2 separate regions of the Homo sapiens genome follow, and region 1 is linked to region 2. Evidence: promoter capture Hi-C in 16 types of primary human blood cells and fetal thymus (Javierre and others, 2016). All regions are on one chromosome and are shown on one strand. Each heading gives the region's core, a stretch centred on a gene start or on the middle of the fragment in contact. The rest is flanking DNA. Distances are from core to core; before and after follow the strand shown. Region 1 has its middle 51 kb from the start of LINC03019. Region 2 holds the start of DLC1 (DLC1 Rho GTPase activating protein).

The links. The method cuts DNA at HindIII sites, captures the fragments that hold promoters and counts their contacts. A CHiCAGO score of 5 or more calls a contact.
Region 1: a fragment that was not itself captured here is called in contact with the fragment with the promoter of DLC1 in region 2 in 1 of 17 cell types (endothelial precursors); the score reaches 5.2 in endothelial precursors.

Annotation. Positions count from the first base shown.
Region 1 is chr8:12,858,874-12,865,330 of GRCh38, forward strand. No RefSeq gene overlaps it. Among named protein-coding and RNA genes, the nearest start is that of LINC03019, 51 kb to the left of the region's middle. The HindIII fragment of the contact is 1,034 bases long and covers 3,588-4,621 here.
Region 2 is chr8:13,513,041-13,519,618 of GRCh38, forward strand. It overlaps DLC1 (DLC1 Rho GTPase activating protein), which reads right to left and starts at 1,811. Exons shown (of 18, transcript NM_182643.3): 1 at 1,562-1,811. The HindIII fragment of the contact is 2,152 bases long and covers 1,036-3,187 here.

The DNA of each region.
Region 1 (6,457 bases), core at 2,855-5,354, 650 kb before region 2:
ATTGCTTGAACCTAGGAGTTTAGTTTGTAGTGATCTATGACCACACTATTGCATTCCAGCCAGGGCAAAAGAGAAAAACCTTGTTAAAAAAAAAAAAAGAAGAAGAAGAAAGAAAAGATAAGAGAAAAAGAAAGAAAGAGAAAGAAGATTCAAACTTAGGTATAGCCAGTAGATGGAAACCAGTGTACTGTGTACTGTGCAGGTATGGTTCAATGTTTGACCCACTAACATGATATGGTCACCCTCTTCTTTGAAAACAACCTTTGAGATCATTGTCAAAATCTCTGAGCGGTACAAGTACAACCCGACTTCAAGACATGCTTGACCTGCTTAGAGAAAGGCTGGGACTCTCCCTGGAGATCAAAGTCATTCCGTGTCTCCTCCTTGTACCTTTTGGCTAAGTTACTCCTCTTGCCACGCATCAGGTGATCAGGGCCCTAGTATTCAGATGCAGCACGGGCCTCATGGAATTCTTATCCTGTGCGGTTTGCTTAAATATAAGAAGTATGCTGTTGTTGACTGAATTCTGTCGTCTCCACAAAAAATTCCTGTTTGAAGTCCTTAGAAAGTGACTGTATGTGGAGAGAGGAGCTTTGAAGAGGTAATTAAGGTTAAATGAGGTCCTATGGATGGGTCCTAATCCAATCCAATCTGACTGATGTCTATAAAAAGAGGGGATTGGAACATTGAGAGAGTCACCAGGGGCACATGTGCATATCAGGACCACCAGGTGAAGAGGCAGCAAGAGAAGAGTCATTTGCAAGCACAGGAGAGAGGCCTCAGAAGAACTCAACTCTGCCAGTACCCTGATCTTGGACTTTTAGCCTCCAGAACCAGGAGAAAATCAATTTCTATTTTTGAAGTCACCTAGTCTGGGCACTTTGCTATGGCAGCCTTGGCAAACTAATACGTGCAGCTTACTCTCAGAAAACTCCTGTTGCATTTAAAGGAAACTTAAAGAGGGCACACAGTAGAATTTAAAATTTGGGTACCTATATAAAATAATCAATGTGACAAGAAACAGTAGTCTCACAATGAAATAACTGTCACAACATTTTAAATTATAGGCAATGCACAAGAAGTTCACGATGCAGTGGCTGTGAGAATCCAGATACACTGAAACACATTCTGCGTCATCTAATTCTACCTCAAGACCATTTTGATTAATGATACAGCATCAGTGAAATTTGTGGTATAGAACCTTTTCTTGCATACATTTAAAGTCCTAGACTATTTATTTCTCTGTGGGTCACAATCTATGGGGTCCAGAAATGTCCACCATCTTTCAGGATTCATTCTCAACCTGCCAGAGCACAAATCACCCCATCTGGGTCTTTGAGAGGAGAAATACTTAACAAGTATAATTCTGTTTCCTTCCATGATTTCTAACTTGCCCTTAACTGCCTAGGCTTTGTCGTGAGCAATCGTTTCGTTGACTCACAAACAGTTTTACAACAGGGACATTTGCAAACTGGTAATTTTCAGTTAAAGAAAAAAATATACACAGCCATGTTCCACCACGCCCTTAAATAGCATGATGGTTTTCATACATGTAATTTATACTCCTAAACTCCTTGCATTTCTGTCACTTTGTAATAACATGAAAACAATTTGGGAGTCACATTCATCCACTAGCAGTAAAACTTCCTGTTCCCTTCATGATCTGACTTTATAGTCATCCCCATCAGTTCTCTAAAAACACAACATCTCTCAGTTAAATCTATGCATAAAATCTTAAGAACTCATATTGAAGCTGAGCTCGAGGATATAATAATGTTGCATCAAAACATAGATTCATTTCCTCAAAGTGAAGTTCAGGAGGCGTCACCCAGGAATAAGTTAGATTGTAAACACATGTAACTCACCCTCCAATTTTTTTCTCATTGTTTCTCTTAAACAGTTACTGTAACTCTTCTGAAATGAGAGCTAGGGACTAATCTTCCTTATGTTCACCAATAACGTAGCCTGCTATTTTTAACAGTTCGAAAAATTCTGATGCATATATTCCTACCACTAACCATAGTTGTACGAGATCAGGAGCTATTTTACTTGAATTTCTTCCATGAAATGTTGAATGGCAACTCTCTGGTTCCCAGGATGTGGAGAAAGGAACTCCTTCTGTCGATTTATAAACTGGAATTCAGTATCACCAACAGAGTCTGCAGCCCTGTGAATGGCCTAAGTCCTTCCTAGCTCTTTAGCATACTGAGAAGTTCCCAATTCACGGACAGAAACACCTATAACAGGTTGTCTATATTTTTAGTGTATTCCCATTTTCAAAGGTCCTAGCTGGTGAGTTTTGGGAAATACTGGGCCTTCAAACCCCCAGTGGGTCTTGATGATTTCCATCTTGTCGGACAGATGGACCACTAGTTACCATGGAAGATATAAGAGAAATCACCCATGGCTCAGGAGAATGGAGCTGATATTCCTTGAATTAGCTGTTCATTCACATATTCAGAACGATTTAGCTGTTTTGAATCAAGCTACAAGATGTTTGGTAGATTTATTTTAAACCATTCTCTTCTGGATATAATTTGCCAGGCCTTAACAGCTGCAATTTTTTCTATTTGGTGAACATTTTATTTAGCTTTCTCTTTTAAGGATGAAAATGCTAAATTTAAGCAGTGCTTACTTCTAGCATGAACAAGAAAAGTAGTAGTTGTATTAGTCTGTTTTCACACTGCTGATAAAGACATACCCAAGACTGGGCAATTTATAAGGAAAAAGAGCTTTAATGGACTCACAGTTCCACATGGCTAGGGAGGCCCCACAATCATGGTGGAGGGCAAAAGGCACATCTTACATGGCAGGCAAGAGAGAGAGATATGAGAGCCGAGTGAAAAGGGAAGCCTCCTATAAAACCATCAGCTCTCGTCAGACTTATTCACTACCATGAGAACAGTATGGGGAAACCGCCCCCATGATTTAATTAGCTCCCATCAGGTTCCTTCCATAACACATGGGAAATATGGAAGCTACAATTCGAAATGAGATTTGGGTGGGGACACAGCAAAACTGTATCAGTAGTGTATTTAATAATTGATTATTGAATGTTTCTCCCATCGGTTGCTGTCTCTGTTAGTTACCATATTCTCTCATAGGACCAACCTCAACTTCTGAATTACCCAACAGGGTACAGATAGTGTTCACTAAATCTTCAATAGCCACAATTTCTCAAAGTAGCTAATGGTTTTGACCACTCTCAGAAGCGTCTTTGAAACTCAAGTTGTTTATCACATCTATGTGACATTCACACTTTAATATCATTAAAGAGAATACTGGTCCCAATTTGAGCTAGTACCACCTAGGTGAGTTGTAACGTGCAAATAATCTTTACTCTTGGTATAAATCCATCTTGGGTGTCCCATGATGGACTATTGTAAGTGTGCAGAGGGTTACTTTTATAGCCTGATAAAGATTTCTCCTCATCTCTGATATATTGCATTTTGGTTGCCTCGAATTTGTCTGATGCATGGTGTGAAATTAAAATGTTAGTTGACAGTGTCGTTTTACACATGCACAGATCCTCCATTCCTATTCATTTCTCAGCACAGGTCAGGATTTTCACCTCTTTTGTGAAGGAAAGCTTTTACCTCATGTTTTATAAAGTTATAAATGCTCTGAACATAAATTCTCACACAACCCCTGTGGTTTCCGAGGCAAATCACAAACTTACAGAACAACATTGCTCTGCTTGATCTTGAATAGTAAAATATTTTATAGGAAACATAGAGCTAACTAGGGGAAGTAGTCATTTCTGCTGTAAAGACATGGCTTTATGGTCACAAAGGGATGAATTTTGGAGAGGGTGGTGGCCCTTTCTCACCCCAAGTTGGCATCTGCTTCTCAAAGAGAGGGGGCTGAGGTTATAACCTGAGCAGACAGGAATACTCACTTTGAGCAACTGTCTAGAGCTTTCAGAGCCAGCCATACAAACAGTCAAAATCTGATGCAGAAAGAGTACAAAACCCACAATGTAAAATAATGAGTAATATTTTTTAATACTGTGGTATCTGTTTCTGATTTAGGGTCAATCTTAGTTTACAAACTGAAGCGAGAAGACACGCAGGCTAGGAAACCATGGCACAGAAGATTAAGCGGTTTAACTCTGGTCAAGAAACTAGTAGCTGCTTAAGTAATTATTGTATCCAGTCTCCTTCCTTCTTCACACTGCACACTTGAATAACTGAGCTGCCGCAAGCAACCTGACCTTCAGAAGTAGATGGGTCTGCCTCTATCAAGATTGCATGCATTCAGAGCCAAAGAAAATACAAAACTGTCCAACACTTCAAGAAGGGAGAAGAAACATTAGGAGAAATATCTAATGTAGATAATATGTTGATCGGTGCAGCAAACCACCATGGCACGTGTATACCTATGTAACAAACCTGCACATTCTGCATATGTATCCCAGAACTTAAAGTATTAAAAAAACTATAATTTCTACCTTTTTGACTGTACCATCCCATCATTTTCATCAGCTTAATAAATGTCAAAACAAATTTGATTGTTTTCAAATTTTTAGCCAAACTGGAGGAAAATATTGACTAGTCCCCACCTCGGAACAGAATTATGGACTCTCACTATTTTCTCTTTTATCATCTCTACCAACAATGTAAGCTTATCTAGACCCATGTGCATGATTGAAAGAAGAAGGTACATTTTTATTGTGGTAAAACATACATTAACATGAAATTTACCATGTAAATCATTTTGAAGTGTACAATTCATTGGCATTAACTACATTCACGTTGTTACGCAATCATTATCACCACCCATTTCTAGAACTTTTTCATCATCCCAAACAGAAACTGTACTCATTAAATAATAACTCCTGATTAATCTCTCCCCCCAACCACTGGTAACTTCTATTTTCCATCTCTGTGAATGTATCTATTCTAGGTACCTCATATAGGTGGAATCACACATTATTTGTCCTTTTGTGACCTACTTATTTCACATAATGTAGCACAATGTCTTCAATACTCACCTCTGTTGTAGCATGTGTAGCAGTGCACAAAGCTTCCAAGGTCTCCACATTCTCACCAACATTTATTTTCCATTTTTCGATACTAGCCTTCCTAATGAGTGTGAGAAGAAGGTATTTTATTTATTTATTTATTTATTTTGAGACAGAATTTGACTCTTGTCACCCAGGCTGGAGTGCAATGGCACGATCTCGGCTCACTGCAACCTCCGCCTCCCAGGTTCAAGTGATTCTCCTGTCTCAGCCTCCTGAGTAGCTGGGATTACAGGCACCTGCCACCATGCCTGACTAATTTTTTTTGTATTTAGGAGAGACGGGGTTTCACCATGTTAGTCCGGCTGGTCTCAAACTCCCGACCTCAGGTGATCCACCCGCCTCATCCTCCCAAAGTGCTGGGATTACAGGCATGCACCACCACGCCCTGCCAGAAGAACCCATCTTTTAACCCATTTTTGAGGTGGCCCCAGTGCTGCAAATATATTAATAGCTTAATACATTTTTTGGAGAGCCAAACAAATATGACTTGATGAGAAGTTTGCCATCTCTATCTCTTCATTAAGCCAGAGTAGCCACCCATAAAGTATATTTTGACAGAGGTTCTGGAATAAAGCCATGCCAGGGACAAGGGGTGAGAGGAAGCATCTGGCGGAAAGTCTCGCAAGTCCAAAATCTGTACAGCAAACCATCAGGCTGGAAATTCAGCAAGAGTTGAAGTTGAAGACCTGAATCCAAAATCTGCAGGCTGGACACCCAGGCAGTGTTTCTATATTGAAATCTTGAGGCAGAGTTTCTTCCTCTTTGGGATGCTTCAGTCTTTTCTCCTAAGACCTGATTGAATGAGGCCTACCCATATTATGAAGGGTAGTCTATTTTACTGAAAGTCTACTGATTTAAATGTTAAGTTTATTCTAAAAATACCTTCACAGCTACATCCAGTTTAGTGTTTGACCAAACATCTGGGTACCATAACCTAGTCAATTTGACATATTACATTGACCACAATAGAAGCTTCTACAATAGGAGATTTTACCCTAAGTTTACACTAAAAATGTAAAGAAGCTGAGCACAGTGGCTCACATCTGTTATCCCAGCACTTTGAGAGGCCTAAGTGGAGGTTACTTGAGTCCAGGAGTTCAAGGCCAACCTGGGCAACATAATCAGACCCCATCTCTAAAAAAAAAGAAAAAGAAAAACTAGTTAAGACTTTACATCAAGGACTCAACAGTAAAGACTAAGAACTTTATACTAATGTAAGACTTTATACTAAAAAAAAGCTTGTTTGTTTGTAATGGGGTTTTTAGATGTTACTTTTGTTCTCAATTACTGAAACTTTCAGGCATAAATTTGGGTTTTATAAATATTAGCAATTACCATGGGAGGGTCTTAACAAAATCATTTTTAAATGAATCCTTTACAAATCATTTAAAAACTTTTCTGCGAGGATTCTTGATGCTTCTATTCTTCTTC
Region 2 (6,578 bases), core at 561-3,060:
CATACTTCATTATGCATAATTATTATGGGAGGGCAGGATGATGGGATAAAAAGGTATCTGAATTATGAATCAGGGCACTGTGGTTCTGCTGTCCTCTCTTCTATTAGCTAGAGGTGTGACCTTGGACAGGTCACTTTTAAATCCCATTTCTCAGCTTCTTGTAGACAACCTCAAGCCATTGTTAGAGGAGACCATCTCTTATGTTCTTTCCTTCTCTGAAATTCCATTTGGAGATTTTAATTAAATCATAATTTAGATAAGTCAGTATTTTATCTTCCACATATATAAAAAGTAGATTCTTTTTCTCATATTTAAGAAGTTTTAACACAAATTGTCAGTGAATAGTTAAAATTTATCAATATAAGTTATTCTAGCATAAAATTTGAGAATAGCTAATATAGCAGATGGTCACCTTGTACTATATAAAAACTTATAATGAAAACAGTTACTTCATTTCTTATGATCCAACTGTCAAAATAGCTCTCCATCTTTCACTTAGTATATTTTGTATTCATCTAATAGATTTGAAAATGTACATGAATATTTCTTCCCTTTATGTACCATTTTATTTCTATAAAATGATGAATTTTATTATAAATATTCAGAAATATAACAGTATCTTATGCATTATAAGTCCACACTTTTTCGGTCATTACTAAACTTCTTTTCTAATATATTGTACATTTAAACATTTAAGATTACCTTGAAGAGACTACAGTCAGGTGGAAATGTAATTTTACGATTACATAAGTAAGGACACAAACAGTTTCCATATGACTGGAGTGATTTCTGGCTGCCTTAAAAGAGTTATAATGAGTGTCAGTGTCATTGAGATTGACTTCAGTTATTCAAAATATTACACAAAATGTGACCGGAGCAAGCAGTGAATCCAGGAAAATTAATATAAACTAAATTCGATTCCGACATTTAAATTTCCAAAACTCAGATTAAATACTATTTAGGACAGAAATAATTCCTGAAATTTCACGTGTTTACTTTTTTTTTTTAAATGAACCTTTTAAGCTGTACAGGAGAAGCTTGACATATGATTGAAACTGGCTTGGGTAAAATAATAAGAAATTCAATCTTCGTAGTTTTAAATGAGACACAAAATACTCTTTGGAGACTGATTATTAAGCACAAGTCACTCGGGTGCTTTCTACTCTCCCTGTTGGCAAAGGAAGGTAGGGGAGGAATTCATTTACACCTCACACTGATGTGTGAGAAAATGTATTTGTTTCACGTTATGCCAAGAAATAGGAAAACTGATCCGACAGCTCAATTAATAAATAAGTTAAACGTAAAAAGGGATAAAAATAAAATCTTACTTTATGGAGGAAAAGAGTTAAATCTATATGGAGCCTGTTTTAGAACTGACAGTTTGCTAAAACGAATTGACTCAGAATTTTCTACTTATCAAACATTTTCCACTTCTGATTTTATGGCTTTGCTCTAAAACCTAGGAAGTCACCAACTCCGTGCAAGATGCTAACATTTATCTCAATCTTTCTGCCTCTTCAAAGACCGCCTCAAAGCATAAAGATAGTCCATAGCGTCTTACCTAGACAACGAGGAGCTGAAACGCCAAGGCATGACACTGCTCAACACTCAGGCTAGGAAAGAAGTCCGTCCCCGTTAGTTTCTCCAAAATCTAAGTTCCCATTTCGTGGTTGAGATCATGGCTCTATTCTGAGCAGTTTCACGCAGTGTGTGAGTCTAACAAAAACACCCTCTGCAGCTGGAGGGAGCCTTAGCTAAGGCAGGATCCTGTCAAGGCATTCCTAGTGACTTCTGTCTACTAAATTCAGACTGAGGTTTTGCAAAAGGGGCCTCCACAACCAGGCCCAGATTGCCTGGAAAGTATTTCCTGCCTCTGAGGAGTGTGCATGCTAGAAAGGCTGTACGAAGAGAGGGGAGGAGGGGAGAGCCCAGCCGCCTGGGCGTTTTAGGAGTTCTGATTTTACACAGAACTCAAGTGAGTTTTGTCAAAGCTCTTGAGGTGATTAGCTGTAGAGTCATAAAGTCCTAGAGCTTTTTCTATCCCACACTGCTTATGAAAAAAGAAAGAAAGAAAGAAAGAAAACGTAGTTTTCTCTCTATCCACAACCTTTCCACTATATTAAATGTATATGCACAGCTTAATCAAAATGCCTGTGCTTGCTCTCATTTCAAAAGATCTTTTAAGAGAGCAAGATGAATTTAGCCTTAATACCATAATTCTTCTAAATGGCAAAACCTTTTTTGAACATGACTTAAAATTGGAAATGCTGCAGCTTTTCATTCTGTCCCTGAGACCATCTGTAAGTAAAATCCCAAGCATCCAGTTAATAGAACGATTTCTTCCAGATCTCTCTGATCACAAGAATCCTTCACAGAATTAAAATAGTTCGTGTTATGGCAAATGCAGCAGCGCATTACCTCTAGTCAGAATCCTCCAGTTACAAAAATCCAGTGCTGGAGCAGAAGACAGGCTCCATCTTGATCGTATTAGAGTCTTGCTGACATTAAACACTTACAACTGCTTCCATCTAGCATGGCAGCGTTCCTGAATCACATCTCTAAAGCCGCTCATGGTATCTGCATCCTTCGTCCGTCACAAATTTTGTGAACTATCATCTGTTTATCTTTTCTGCTTTCTTGTGCCTCCCTTGAATGACTTCCTCCTAGCTGCTCCAGGTTGGGAATTTGGACTACCATTTGGTTTTGATTAAAACCAGACAGGCAACTCTGGAGAATTTAGGGAATAAGCTAATGGAAACTGCAAGTATGGCTTTAATTAGTGCATCAATTAATAATAGATGTTAGCTCGTCTTATAATAAGATATCACAAATACAAACACAGAGGAAGCTGAAGTCGTTTCAGGAAAAAAGTTACACCAATTTTCCTTCCTTTATGACCCAGAATCCTCTTTAGAGAATGTGGAAGGAAAGAAGAGGGAGGTGGTTTTGGGACATCCAGGCTGTGGAGAGGCCAGTAGAGCAGCTTCATTGTTTATACCAGGGAAGCAGGAAACAGCATCTCTGACTTTAATTATCTTGCTTGGTGGAAATGGCTCAGTCATGTCTCCCTTCTACTTTATTTACAATCAATGGATTTCGCTGCTATTTATGACTCAAGCATTTTTTTGGGGGGGGACTGATGATCAGATTAATTATTAGGTCTATCTGCTTCTTGCAAATTTCTAGAAGCTTTCAATAATAGGAAGTGCAAGAATAATTCCAGTTGGATGTGATAAAATGAGTAACATATAAAGAGGTAAAAGACATCTTAAACTTGTTGGCCCTAAGATCTATCCTGTTCTTCTCTGAAATTGTAAGTAGTTTTCATTGTTCACTGTTATTCTCCATCCCTGTATATCACAAGGGCTATCTTGTAGTACTTTTTGATAATATTGGGTAGGTGATAACTCAAAGATGCACAAGGTTCTAACTACTATTTTTTTCCTTATTAGGTAGCTAAAATCTCTCAAAGTTAATGCAAATCATGAACCATATTAGACCCATGTTAGATGGCAAGAATGACTTATACTGTGCATGAGTTTGAAGATGAGAAGTAGTCAAATAAAAACGTTTGGTCAGAAGCAGCTTTAAAAGTTTAGATCAAAGTCTTATTGACTAAAAACATGAGCATTTAGGTTTCTTTAATTTAATCTTCAACCATAGGCCAAGAAAGAAGTCTGTTCTTCCATAAATTCTTTAAAAAGTATTTATATTTATATTCAAAGTGTTTCTACTGACAGTATGCCTATTTAATCTTTCCAACAATTTTGCGTGTATTCATATGTTTTATTTTACAAATAAAGTATTGAGAAGCAATTTTCTCACAGTCAAATGATACAAAGTGCCCAGGTCCACACTGGAACTCAGATATTCTAGCTCCAAGCTTTGTGCTTTAATTTTTTCTCCATAAACTGCCTTCCTTGACTTCCACTTAATTTCTTTATTAAATTGGGAAGACTTCTTAAACTCTAATAGTTTCTCTTTAAAAATAGAGACAATTTCACATAACTTATAGATTGGAAAGCAGGATGAAATTTATATGCAGAAATATTTGTGTATTTATGTTTATTTCCCTAAGAAAAACACTGGAGAAGAAAGGAATGAGAACTGATATTATGTCTTTCCTAATATAACTTGATATCTCTATCTCTGTCACTGCCTTTAGTACTGATATACAGTGGTTACTCAATATTATATCAGCATCATGCTAATTCTTAGCTACATTTTATTCATGAATACTGTACCCCGCGCCATATACTTTAGTTTTGTTTCTATTTCTATTGGCTTGGGAAAACAAGAAAACTCTGTTCACAAATGCCTTTTAGATATCTAGAAACTCTTGTTAGTAAGTTTCTCATAAACATACCCTTTTCTACACAAAAAATACATTATGTTTTCTTCTATTAATAGGATTACTTCCCAAATCTTTAATTACTTATATTTATTTTTCATTGTTGAGTTGCTTGATTCCAAACAAATCTCAGATCTTATAGTCTTATAAAGGCTTTACCAAATATGAGTGTAAAGATAAATAGTGAGAAAACTTCCTAAGTACTTAGTATTGTGTCAGGAACACTGAAGGAGTTCAAAATATTTGTCCCCTTCTTTCTACTTGCAAATCTAAATACCAACTTCCTTAAATGTTTGACTGTTACTCTGTACTGGATCAGCTAATCAAATAAGGGGACAGGGACAGTTAAGAACTTGAAAACAAAGTATCAGGATAGGAGTCTGCTCCAAAACTAACAGCTTTTGTGACCTGTGTGAGTTACCTAACCGGGGTGAGGATGTCTTAGCTTCCATAACTAAGAATTGTCACAATGCAAAAAGCTAGTCCATATAAAGCCATTAGCTAGAATTATTTTTACCACTTAAATTATTGCCTTTTTTAATGTTTACATCTCTCTTTCAGGTATTTTTAGAATCTTTCTCTCTCTTCTATTGAACTCCAAGTTAAATGTATACATGTGAAACCGTTATAGTGGTGGAACAATTATGTACTCTGTGGAAAGAAGAATAGCAGGAGGTGGATTAAATGGTATTTTAAAGATCACCTTTCTTTTTTTTGTTTTTGTTTTTGTTTTTGAGACAGAGTCTGGCTCTGTTGCCCAGGCTGGAGTGCAGTGGTGGTGATCTCGGCTCAAGGCAACCTCCGCCTCCTAGGTTCAAGCAAATCTCCTGCCTCCATCTCCTGACTAGCTGGGATTACAGATGCACTCCACCACACTTGGCTAATTTCTGTATTTTTAGTAGAGACAGGGTTTCATCGTGTTGGCCAGGGTGGTCTTAAACTCCTGACCTCAAGTGATCTGCCTGCCTCGGCCTCCCAAAGTGCTGGGTTTAGAGGCGTGAGCCACTGTGCCTGGCCTAAAGATCTCTTTTCTACTTAGGTACTTTTACCTAAACAATAAACATTAGCTATGATCATTTATCTAGTCATTTCCCAATCATTTTCAGGAAAGTTGAATCTGGACTTCTGTACAGAATTATTCAGTGTCTCTCATGCAGTTCAAGAACATTTTATGTAAAGCAAGATCTATCCTTTGAAAATAGTGTTTTACTCTTTTATGAAATAAGTAGCAACATCATTAATTCAGTCACATTAGACATTTGTGATATTATGCGTGGAAGTCAGCTTTTATGTTTTCCATTTTTGTTAATGAATATGTTTATAATAGCAATGAACTTGAAATTAATATATAAAGAGAATAAATACCTTGAAAGTATTTTGAAATATCTACATGCATACAGTTAGTGTAATAAATGTTAAGAACACTTTGTCCATGAAAATTATTCGTCTAAAAATCTCTAAAAATTTGCTTGTAATTTATTGAAGTTACTGTATTGGAAACAATAAAAGTAGAATTTATCAGATTTTCTAATTTATTTTTTCAGTAAGCTTTACATGTGTTTTCTTTTTTTAAAAATATATTATCAAGAATTTTTTTATTATTTACTTTTTTTATTATACTATAAGTTCTAGGGTACATGTGCACAACATGCAGGTTTGTTACATATGTATACATGTGCCATGTTGGTGTGCTGCCCCCATCAACTCGTTATTTACATTAGGTATATCTCCTAATGCTATCCCTCCCCCCTCCCCAGATGTAGTCTCACTCTGTCGCCCAGGATGGAGTGCAGTGGCGCAATCTCGGCTCACTGCAAGCTCCGCCTCCTAGGTTCACGCCATTCTCCTGCCTCAGCCTCCCAAGTAGCTGGGACTACTGGCACCCGCCACCATGCCCAGCTATTTTTTTTGTATTTTTAGTAGAGACGGGGTTTCACCGTGTTAGCCAGGATGGTCTCGAGCTCCTGGCCCTGTGATCCACCCGCCTTGGCCTCCCAAAGTGCTGGGATTACAGGTGTGAGCTGCCGCTCCTGGCTCATGTGTTTTCTTTAAATAAGTTCACTTTTGTAGACACATCCAGACCAAGAAAAACCATATAATTTGTAGTTTATATTCAATAAGCATCATGCGCATGATTAGTTTTTTGATCAATTTTGTCACAATTTTGACACCCAACTTGGTAACCATATAGTATTTACCTGAAAGCACACATTAAAGGAACACACTT